Linked DNA regions of Homo sapiens: regions 1 and 2 are each linked to region 3. Evidence: promoter capture Hi-C in 16 types of primary human blood cells and fetal thymus (Javierre and others, 2016). All regions are on one chromosome and are shown on one strand. Each heading gives the region's core, a stretch centred on a gene start or on the middle of the fragment in contact. The rest is flanking DNA. Distances are from core to core; before and after follow the strand shown.

Region 1 (3,876 bases), core at 1,292-3,791, 100 kb after region 3:
CTGTAGTCCCAGCTACTTGGGAGGCTAAGGTGGGAGAATCGCTAGAATCCAGGGGGCAGAGGCTGCAGTGAGCTGAGATTGTGCCACTGCACTCCAGCCTGGACAACAGAGCGCGACCCTGTCTCAAAAAAAAAAAAAAAAAAACACGAAAAGAAACTTGAGTTAGTCAATTTCATACCTTTTTTGGCCATGCCCTACACCAGAGGTCCCAAACCAGATTGAAAAAAATCACCCAGGAAATTTCTGAAAAGATTTGAGTTCCACCATATATCTACTGAATCAAAACCTCTGCAGGTGAGTCCCAGAAATCTTTATTTTATTTTATTTTTTATTTTTATTTTTTGAGATGGAGTCTCACTCTGTCACCCAGGCTGGAGTGCAGTGGCTTGATCTCAGCTCACTGCAACCTCTGCCTGCTGGGTTCAAGCAATTCTCCTGCCTCAGCCTCCCAAGTCGCTGGGACTACAGGCATGCACCACCATGTCCAGCTAGTTTTTTGTATTTTTAGTAGAGACGGGGTTTCACCATGCTGGCCAGGCTGGTCTCAAACTCCTGACCTCATGATCTGCCTGCCTTGGCCTCCCAAAGTGCTGGGATTACAGGGGTGAGCCACCGTGCCTAGCCTATATTTTAAAATAATTCTTCAGATGACACTAATATTCTAATGATGATACAATTTGCAGAGTTTCTCAAACCGACTTGGTAGCAGAGCCTTTTTTTTTAATAGAATATCTAGCTGAATTAGTGTTCTAAGGAACACACTTTGGGAAACAGTGCTCTGGTGCAACTCAAATTATAATCTCCCACAATCCACCAATAGCCCACAGCTCTCTAGAAGTAATTAACAGCTTCCAGTGGAATTAACCCAGTCCAATCTTCTCACCAGTGTCTCTCTTTCCCGTTGCTGCAGTCTGGCACTTTCCTGCTCACGATTCAGGGCCTCCATGGCCTCAGAAAGGCTTTGTTCCAGGCGGGTTACTGTCTTTCAGGAAGAGAGGAATACAGGGCAGAGGAACTGTGGGAAATCTGTGTGTGCTATATTTTATAAAGCATTGACAATGTAAACTTGAAACTTCACAGTTAACTAAATGACTAAGGGGCCAGATAGAAGACTACATGGTGTGGGAAAAATTAAGACATTGATGATTCAAGTTGGACAGCAGAAACGGTTAAAGGAGAAGAAAGGAGGGATGAGAAGAAATGTCAGGACAGCCACTACAAGACTGAGGTCAATCTGTTGGAAACCCTAATTCCAGAGCTATTTCTGCCCCTTTCCATCTTGAGATCTGTGACTCAGGTTCTAATGCCATATGCTCCAGGGCGCTCACCTCCTGCTGCTTGCTTCTGGTGAGCTCTGCTGCCTGGTGTTCCTCTTGAAGTCCCCTGAGAACCTCTGTCCGCTCAGCCTCATGCCGGTTCCAGCCCTCCACCACACGGGCCAGGGTCTTAGGTAGGGCAAGTAAGATGAAATTTCAAAATAACTTTTTTGCCTCTTTCTACCCACAGGGGCAGGGTCAACAGCCATCTTCTCCCAACAGTCAGCAAACCAACCCCTTGCCCAGCTCTCAGCATGTACCAAGAAACATTGGTTGGCCACCCACTTATTTATTATTCCTTAATGCTCTTCATGGAGAGACCCACCCACATTTTGCTACCCTGGTACCTTGTCCAGTTGTTCAATCATGGTATCTTTCTTGCGGTCGGCAGCCACAGCCACGGCTAATTGTTGCTGTAGCTCTAACACTCGGGTCTGCAGGCTCTGAATATGGCGCTCACAATGCTGGGGAAAAGGGTGAGGAGTCTGGGTGTTGCCCATCTTTGGTATGACCACAGCACCAAACTTTCCAGCTCCTCTAGTGGGGGAGTGGGCTGGAGCCAAGAAGCTTGGGTCCCAAGAACAGAATAGGTCTGGAGAGGGAGAATCAGGAAAATTCTGAAGCAAGCACCTTGAGGCTCAAGATCTCCAACATGTTTCTGTACCTTTTCAGGAGATAAGTGCTTAGATTCCAGGCTCCTCCTTTTCCTGGATCTCCTGAGTAAAAATCCCATAAACCTTTTGGCAGAGATGCAGCAGCCCACACAGCAAAATGTGCAAAGTTACTCCTACCTTCAGAAGCTCATTGGACACAATGAATAAACACAGCAAGGATAAAGGGGAAAGCCTTTCATTCATGCCAAGGGGTTTAACATGGAGAAAGAGAGGCTTCCAAAAATGGCAACCAGTGATTTTGACTTTTCCTCTCCTTTGTCTATTTCTCTGTCCCCTTCAGACACTAAGGCAGAGGCTCACAGAGATAAAGCTCAGTATATCACCAGTAGCTGTAAATCCTGTGCACAAGCTAGCAGAGTTTGTGTCCATTCGACAAACACAGAGTGTTTCTGTGTTATGTATATTCTAGACCTTAGGCAGCCAGTACTAAGACAAACAAGATACGGACCCTCAAATTTTAGAGAGGAGAAAAAAACAAGATATATCAGAACGATAAGCTACATGAAAGAAATAAGAAGGCGATCTGACTACTTGGAAAGGAGGTGGTGCCATATTAGATGGAATGGTCAAAAAAGCCCTCCTCAGAAAAACATTTAAGTCCCAGCTTTCAGGCTCTTAACCCTCAGCCCTTTTCTTTTTTAGTTTTTTTTTTTTGAGACGGAGTCTCGCTCTGTCGCCCAGGCTGGAGTGCAGCGGCATGATCTCGGCTCACTGCAAGCTCCGCCTCCCAGGTTCACGCCATTCTCCTGCCTCAGCCTCCCGAGTAGCTGGGACTACAGGCACCCACCACCATGCCCGGCTAATTTTTTCTATTTTTAGTAGAGACGGGTTTCACCGTGTTAGCCAGGATGGTCTCGATCTCCTGACCTCGTGATCCGCCTGCCTCAGCCTCCCAAAGTGCTGTGATTACAGGCGTGAGCCACCACGCCAGGCCCCCTCAGCCCTTTTCAACACTTGGGTCCCCTCTTTCTAATCTTTGCTGCTTTCGAAAGGAAGCGTTTGCATCTTACCTTGCGGCGGGTATGCTCTGAATCCAATGCATCTCTCAGCCCCTGAAAATCTGGGGGATTGAGTGGAGGCCCTGGCCGAAGGCTGGTGTAGCGGGGAAACAGCTCCTCCAGGGCTTGGGCTGAGCTAGATGGAGACAAGTCTTGCAGGGGCCGGGTGCTGAGCAAATCAGGTAGAGAATGTTAGGGCTGGGAAAGCTTTTGGAATCCACTTGTCCAACTGTGATATTCTACAAATGAGGAAACTGAGACCCAGAGAGGGCAAGAGACTTGTCCAAAGTCGTAAAGCTATATAACCATAGTGCTATAAATAACACACAGGTCTGTGATTCACTTAAAGGTTTCAGCAGAAACAAGCTAACTCTTTAGAGGGGAAGAATGACTGCAGGTTAAGAGAAAGCCAGGTACTAGGCAACAGATACCTGTGTTCCTGAAGGAGTAAAGGGGGCAGGAGACAGTAGAAAAAGATGAAAACTGAAAGGCAAGTGATAAGCCTCTTGGGTTCTTAAGAGGTACAAAAGCAATAAAGGGAGAAATAAGGAACAAAACACCTGGATTTCCAAGAAAGCAAACAAGCTAGGAGAACCACAAGGAGAACTCACTTGAGCAAGGTGGCTGTGCTATCACTGTCAAAGGAGTCCTCTTCCCGTCTCTCTGAGCCAGCGCCAGGAATGAGAGGATCCCCTGCAGGCAGCCAGAGGGACCCCAAAGCCAGAGTCAGGTAATGACAAAAACAGGGGCCACCTGAAGAGAAAAGGCCTTCCTTTCCAGTTCCCTCACTCCTTCACCCCCTCTCCCAAAGAACGGGAGACTTTTCTCCTGAAATCTCTTGCTCAGAGGTTTTCCTGCCTGCTTCCTCTGTCCACTTTCTCCCACCCC
Region 2 (4,070 bases), core at 178-2,677, 80 kb after region 3:
GGGGTCTGCCTGGCCCAGCCTGGACAGAGCAACAAGGGTCTTGGGAGTCCCACGGGGTTTCCCTGAGCCCAGAGGACCACAGGAGCAGCAGATGGAATTTCTGGGCCCCAGAGAAGGACATGGGGATTTCAAGGAGGATCACCTGCCCCGGAGAGGCCCCTGGGATGAGAACACAGGAAAAACAGCAGCAATAGCCTGGAGCTCCGGATGGGATGAAGCACATGCAACCACAGCATGATGTTGGGGAGAGGCAGGGGCCCTGCGGACTGTGCTCAGATTTGGGAGGGTTCCATGAAGGTGAGTATAGATGTGTGTTTTATTTTGTTTTTTATTTTTATTTATCTTTTATTAAAGACATGCTATTTTGACAAGTAGATTTGCTATTTATTTATTTATTTATTTATTTTTGCGACGGAGTTTCGCTCTTGATGCCCAGGCTGGAGTGCAATGGTGTGATCTCAGCTCACTGCAATCTCTGCCTCCAGGGTTCAAGTGATTCTCCTGCCTCAGCCTCCCAAGTAGCTGGGATTACAGGCGTGCGCCACCATGCCTAGCTAATTTTTGTATTTTTAGTAGACATGGGGTTTCACCATGTTGGTCAGGCTGGTCTCGAACTCCTGACCTCAGGTGATCTGCCCACCTCGACCTCCTAAAGTGCCGGGATTACAGGTGTGAGTCACTGCGCCTGGCCGATTTTCATTTTAGAAAGAGCACACCAAGTGGGAACGCTTGGAGAGAGCCATGAAAGGACAGAGGGAGACCAAGAGTGAAGTGGTCCCAATAACCCAGGAGAGAATAAGAGCAGGATGGGAGAAGTGAGGAGAAATTTCACACAGGAAGAATCAGCAGGTCATGGTGACAAACTGGATGTGAGTGGTGACAGAGACAGAGAAAAGGTCTTTGCTGAGATAGAGAAAGCAGAAAAATAGCAGGTTTAGGAAAGGAATCCAGTGAGTTCAGTTTGGAACACACTGATCTTTGTCTATGGGACAATCTAACTGTTAGCTATCAAGTAGGTAGTTCTCATAAACTAACAGTGCCCACAACCATTGCACAAGACTGCCCAGGAACATTCCGTAATAGCAAACACTCCATATTGCTCTTAAGTTGGTGTGCATGTATGTCTAGATATAGCAGAGATGAAGTAGGATGCTGGTTTTTCATACTGGCAACTGTTGATATTGAATGCTAGAACCACAAATACTTTTGTGAAGATGATTTAATAAATTTTCAAAAATTTAAGTATTTCAGCTTTATTAGAATGATTTTGCTTAAATGTTTAATATTTATTAGTTATAACTTGCATTTTTCATCTTTCTTTTTTTTTCGAGATGGAGTCTTGCTCTGTTGCCCAGGCTGGAGTGCAGTGCCGTGATCTCAGCCCACTGCAACCTCTGCCTCCCAGGTTCAAGCCATTCTACTGTCTCAGCCTCCCAAGTGGCTGGGACTACAGGCACATGCCACCACACCGGCTAATTTTTCTATTTTTTTTTAGTAGAGAAGGGGTTTCACCATGTTGGCCAGGCGGGGCTTGAACTCCTGACCTCAAGTGATCCGCCCACCTTGGCCTCCCAAAGCGCTGGGATTACAGTCATAAGCCACGACACCCGGCTGCATTTTTTATCTTAATAGTTGAAAATATTTTCAGAAGATAAAGATTTTTAAAATACTAGAAGAAAAATCACTTCTAAAACATGACAATTTAAAATTAAAAGATTCTACACTTCCTTAATTTGCATATTTTGATGTATATTTATTGAAAATTTGTATGTTTTTATTTATTTTGGGTTTTTCTTTTTGGGTTTTTGGACTTTTTTTGAGACAGAGTCTTGCTCTGTCACTCAGGCTGGACTGCAGTGACATGAACACAGCTCACTGCAGCCTCAACCTCCTGAGATCAAGCCTCCCGAGTAATGGGGACTACAGGCACGTGCCACCACTCCTGACTAATTTTAAATTTTTTGTAGAGGCGAGGGTCTCACTTTGCTGCCCAGGTGGGTCTTGAACTACTGGACTTAGGCGATCCTCCTGACTTGGCCTCCCAAAGTGCTGGGATTACAGGCTTGAGCACCATGCCTGGCCATGTACATTTCAAAAATAATTACCATAGCCAGCCACGGTGGCTCATGCCTGTAATCCCAGCACTTTGGGAGGACCAGGCGGGCGGATCATGAGGTCAGGAGATCGAGACCATCCTGGCTAACACACTGAAACCCCTTCTCTCCTAAAAATACAAAAAATTAGCCGGGCGTGGTGGTGCACAGCCTATGTGGCCATGGGCTTTGTTACATCTGGATAGAGCCCTGAAACACCTGCAGCCAGTCTGAGGAGGAAGCCGGTGTTGAGGAGGGAAGGATAGACACGAAAAGAACCTGAGTTCCTGGCAGGGTGTGGCGGTTCAGCTTGTAATCCCAGCACTTTGGGAGGCCGAGGCGGGTGGCTCACGAGGTCAGGAGTTCCAGACCAGCCTGACCAAGATGGTGAAACCCCGTCCCTACTAAAAATACAAAAATTAACCAGGCATGGTGGCGAGTGCCTGTAATCCCAGCTACTTGGGAGGCTGAGGCAGGAGAATCACTTGAACATGGGAGGTGAGCCAAGATTGTGCCAGTACACTCCAACCTGGGCGACGAGGGAAACTCCATCTCAAAAAAAAGAACCTGAGTTCCTGACTTCATTGTGCCATTAACCTTACCACACTCGGAGCCCACCCTGTTTCTGTGTCCTTCTTGCTAAAGACAACGTGAGTCAGGGTTTCAATTACGTGCCACCAAAATCATCCTAATGGATACATCATCCAAAAAATGCCTTGTGGGACACTGACAAATCTATGCCCTGAAGGCAACCTGTCCAGGTCACATGCACACAGAGGTTACTCTGTAAGTTCATTTCAAGCAAATAAGGGCAAGGCATTCTAGCATGGGAAATGACACGCCAGGGTGTCCTCAGTGAGTATTATTTGTACTTTTACTACACATCTGGTGGAAGTGTAAACTGGTGCGATCTTTTTGAAAAACAATTTGGCATTATGTTTTAAGGATCTTAAAAATGTTCAGACTGTTCGAACCAGTAATTCCACTTCTAGAAAACAGAGACACCAAGGTGTACATATGAGAATATTCATTCATCATTATTTATAACAGCAAAGAATGGTAAATATTTATTTAGTCCAATAAGTGGGGACTAAATAAATTTATATTATATATATATTTTATATAAAATTATATAAATATATATAAATTTATATAACAACAGTCATATAAATTATGGTCATATAAATTATGGTATACCTTGAGGACATAAAATTAAACAGCAGTTGAAAATTGTTTTAAAATAATATGTAATGAGATTAAGAGAAAAAAATTTGATGAGAACTATATGTACAATGTAATTCCGTTTATGTATGTGTGTGAGTGTATTAAAAAAGAAAATGATTCTCTGGGTGACAGAATTTCAGTTGATTTCTATTTTCTTATTTATAATTTTGCTTTCTAATCTTCTGTAATGAACAAGCTTTATAGGAGAAAATAAAGGTTTAAAATTCCAGTTAAGGCCGGACGCGGTGGCTCACGCCTGTAATCCCAGCATTTTGGGAGGCCGAGGCAGACAGATCCTGAGGTCAGGAGATCGAGACCATCCTGGCTAGCATGGTGAAAACCCGTCTCTACTAAAAATACAAAAAAATTAGCCGGGCGCGGTGGCGGGCGCCTGTAGTCCCGGCTACTCGGGAGGCTGAGGCAGGAGAATGGCGTGAACCCGGGAGGCGGAGCTTGCAGTGAGCCGTGATCACACCACTGCACTCCAGCCTGGGCGACAGAGGGAGACTCCGCAAAAAAAAGAACGAGATCATGTCTTCTGTGGGAACATGGATGGAGCGGGAGGCCATTACCCTCAGTAAACTAACGCAGGAACAGAAAACCAAATTCCGCATATTCTCACTTATAAGTGGGAGCTAAATACTTACGAATACCAAGAGAGGAACAACAAACAGTGCTGCCTACTTGAGGCTGGAGGGTGGGAGGAGGGAGCGGGGCAGAAAAGATAATTCTTGGGCACTGGGCTTAGTACCT
Region 3 (3,661 bases), core at 396-2,895:
GAAGACACCAGCAAAGGTAAGGCATTTAAAGCAGTTTCTTTCTCTTTCTTTTCTTTCTTTCTTTCTTTCTTTCTTTCTTTCTTTCTTTCTTTCTTTCTTTCTCTCTCTTTCTTTCTCTCTTTCCTTCCTTTTCCTTCCTTCCTTTTTTTTTTTCTTTTTTTGAGATGGAGTTTTGCTCTGTCCCCCATGCTGGAGTGCAATGGCGTGATCGGCTCACTGCAACCTCCACCACCCGGGTTCAAGCTATTCTTCTGCCTCAGCCTCCCATGTAGCTGAGAATACAGGTGCCCGCCACCCTACCCAGCTGATTTTTGTATTTTTAGTAGAGATGGGGTTTCGCCCTGTTGGCCAGGCTGGTCTCGAACTCCCGACCTCCAGTGATCCGCCTCCCTCAGCCTCCCAAAGTGCTGAGATTACAGGTGTGAGCCACCACGGCACCTGGCCCTAGAGCAGTGTTTTTCAAACATCAGTGGCCACCAGAGTCATCTGGAAGGCTTGTCAAAACAAAAATTCCCACTCTACACCCTCAGTGTCGTAGTAGGTTGGAGGTGGCCTGAGAATTTGCATTTCTAATACGTTCCTGTAGACGCTGCTGATCCCAGGAGCAGCTTTGATAGGAGAGGTGGAGGCAGGGGCTTTTAATCTCTGTCATGACCAGGACACTCAAGCTGCCCCTCATCGTTTGGGCACACCCTCCCCCATCAGTAACCCCCTCCTCACTGGTACATCTCCTGCCGGGCCTGAAGCTCCTCCTGGCGCTGTTGCTGGAGCACAGGGTGGTGGTCTGCCCAGGACACCTTGGCTGTGGGAGAAGGGGAGTAGGTTGGGGTGGGGAGAGAAACTCACCATCACTACCACCAGCCACACAGTCTCCACGATTGCCACCCTCTACCAGGTCCCCTCCTCCCATAAGTACAGTTTCTCCTACACCAGGCTGCTACCTCCCGCTCCCCAAGGCTCCGCCATTCCCTCTCCTCTGCCCGCTACTCTGTGGCCACACCAGCTCACCTCTCCATTTCACCTGCCCTTCTCCCCAACCCCCAGTCCCCTACCCCTTCCTGTGCTCCCCCTGCAGCCCCAGCCCGGCCCGCCCCTCACCTGTACCCTCCTGCAGCACCAGGGTCCCCGCCCCCTCCAGCCACTGGTAGCAGGGGAAGAGGAGGTGGCCGCCCCGCGGCGGTGTCAGCTGGAACCAGCGGCAGAACCAGGCATCCGGGGCCAGGGGCCCCAGCAGGGGCAGCACTGGGGGCGCCTTGTGCACGCGCAGCAGCAGCACTCGGCCTACGTCCTCCGGGAGCGTCACCTGGAAGTCCTCCTCCTGAGGGGAGGTTAAGTATGCGTCAGGCCGGACCCTCCTGCTCGCCCCCTTCACCTCCACCCCATCCACTCCCACGCACTCACAGCGCCCGCAGTGAACTCCTTGCCGAGATTGTCCAGGGGCAGTGGGGGGCTCTCTCCCCGGGTCCCCACGATGCTGACAGACACTTTGTCCCATGTGCCAGCCCCGAAGGCTTCTCCGGTGGACACCCTGACCCTGAACTCGGCCATGCTGCCAGCCTAAGTCCAGCTCTCTACGGCGCACAGGGCTGCAGAGCGGGGCTCCCCCCTGGGACACGCCTGGTTATTGCCCCTGGTTATTGCCACTGACTCCAAGCCCAGTGGACTCCTCTAAAAAGCACGTCCGTTTCAGGGCGGGGAGGGGCGGGGCGGAGAGGCTGGAACACGCAACTAAAGTGGGGGTGGGCGGGGGATTGGCAGCGCTGGGAACAGGAGGGACTAAGAATACCCTGAGGTTTGGGGAACGGGGCCTTTCAGTGGTGGTGCCAGGCCAGAGAGCCTAGAGTTGGGACCCAGTTGGGGTGGGGGTAGATTTGTGCCCACCACGTCTGTTTGTTTTCCTTCTTAGCCTTAGAAGTCTATGCAAAAATATCACCCCATTTCCCACAACTCTTCTTGGGCCTGCGTTCATTATTTTTAAAATTTATTTATTTATTTATTTTTGAGACAGAGGCTTGCTCTGTCGCCAGGCTGGAGTGCAGCAGCATGATCTCGGCTCACTGGAACCTCCTCCTCCTGGGTTCAAGTGATTCTCCTACCTCAGCCTCCCCAGTAGCTGAGACAACAGGCGAGTGCCACCATGCCCAGCTAATTTTTGTATTTTAGTAGAGACGGGGTTCCACCATGTAGGCCAGGATGATCTTGATCTCTTGACCTCATGATCCGCCTGCCTCGGCCTCCCAAAGTGCTGGGATTACAGGCGTGAGCCACCGCGCCCAGCCTACATTCATTATTTTATTTCATTCAATAATTAATGTTCAGAACTACCTCTGTGCCAGGTGCTATGCTCACTGCTATTGATAAAGGCCCAGGCAAGACCTAGTGCTTGCTCTCATGGAGATTAAAAATCAAGTGTGAGGCCAGGCACAGTTGCTGGCCAACATGGTGAAACCCCATCTCTACTAAAAATACAAAAAAATTAGCCAAGCGTGGTGGCGGGCGCCTGTAGTCCCAGCTACTCAGGAGGCTGAGGCAGGAGAATAGCTTGAACCCGGAAGGCGGAGGTTTCAGTGAGGTGAAGTTGTGCCATTGCACTCCAGCATGGGCGACAGAGCAAATCTCGGTCTAAAAAAAAAAAATCAAGTGTGAGAGAAAATAAGTAAACCAACACATAATTTCAGATGATAATAAGTGCAATGAAGGAAATGAAACAGACTAATGTGAAGGAGTGAGAAGCAGAGGTGGGAAGGGAGGCGTTCAGAGCCTCAGAGGAGGTGAAAGGATCTGTCTGGGGAACAGAGTTTTGTGCAGAGGAAACTGTTCCTGAAGAGGCCCTGTGGTTAGGAAAAGCTTGGCTTGTTGGAGGAGGGAAAGGCAAGAGTGCAGTGAGGGAGGGATTTGGGGGAGAGATGCCAAGGGGAAGTTATGGATTTGGGCTTTGGGGGAATAACATAACAGATTTGGGGTTTTCGGTCTGGAGATGCTAAGTTTGAGATGGCCATTAGACATCCAAGTGGAGAACCCACGTCTGGGCATAGAGCTCAGGACTGCAGGTGTGCATCTTTGAGTCACAAGCACACAGGTACATCTATACCACAGGCTGGTGGAGATCACTAGGCAGAGAATATCCTATAAGTAGAGAAGAGAAGAGGCACAAGCTGTGCCCTAAGGTCCTCTGATATTTGGAAGTCATGCAAAGGAGTGGAAGCAGCAAAGTTCAGTCAATGAGGTAGGAGGAGAACGATGCCGGCAGACACTTTGTCCTCTTGTGCCTGTCACAGTGTTTCATGAAAGCCAACTGAAGTGAGAGTGACTTATCATGTATATTCCATATATACCATGGAATACTATACAGCCATGAAAAAGAATGAGATCATGGTCAGGCATGGTGTCTCACACCTGTAATCTCAGAACTTTGGGAGGCTGAGGCAGGCAGATCACGAGGTCAGGAGTTCGAGACCAGCCTGACCAACATGGTGAAACCCCATCTCTACTAAAAATACAAAAATTAGCTGGGTGTGGTGGTGACTGCCTGTAATTCCGGCTACTCAGGAGGCTGAGGCAGGAGAATCATTTGAACCCGGGAGGCAGAGGTTGCAATTCCAGCTACTCAGGAGGCTGAGGCAGGAGAATCACTTGAACCCGGGAGGCGGAGGTTGCAGTG

The links. Contacts are between HindIII fragments. The CHiCAGO score rates a contact against its expected background, and 5 or more counts as called.
Region 1: a contact is called between a fragment that was not itself captured here and the fragment with the promoter of ALOX15B in region 3, in 1 of 17 cell types (endothelial precursors). The highest score is 5.1, in endothelial precursors.
Region 2: a contact is called between a fragment that was not itself captured here and the fragment with the promoter of ALOX15B in region 3, in 1 of 17 cell types (megakaryocytes). The highest score is 5.0, in megakaryocytes.

Annotation. Positions count from the first base shown.
Region 1 is chr17:7,934,270-7,938,145 of GRCh38, reverse strand. CNTROB (centrobin, centriole duplication and spindle assembly protein) reads right to left here. Exons shown (of 19, transcript NM_053051.5): 3 at 3,600-3,681; 4 at 3,001-3,157; 5 at 1,664-1,780; 6 at 1,329-1,445; 7 at 884-982. Among named protein-coding and RNA genes, the nearest start is that of CNTROB, 4.0 kb to the right of the region's middle. The HindIII fragment of the contact is 1,312 bases long and covers 1,886-3,197 here.
Region 2 is chr17:7,956,699-7,960,768 of GRCh38, reverse strand. No RefSeq gene overlaps it. Among named protein-coding and RNA genes, the nearest start is that of CNTROB, 27 kb to the right of the region's middle. The HindIII fragment of the contact is 4,177 bases long and covers 1-3,515 here.
Region 3 is chr17:8,037,043-8,040,703 of GRCh38, reverse strand. It overlaps ALOX15B (arachidonate 15-lipoxygenase type B), which reads right to left and starts at 1,645. Exons shown (of 14, transcript NM_001141.3): 1 at 1,402-1,645; 2 at 1,099-1,318; 3 at 721-802. The coding sequence starts at 1,548. The HindIII fragment of the contact is 10,323 bases long and covers 1-2,849 here.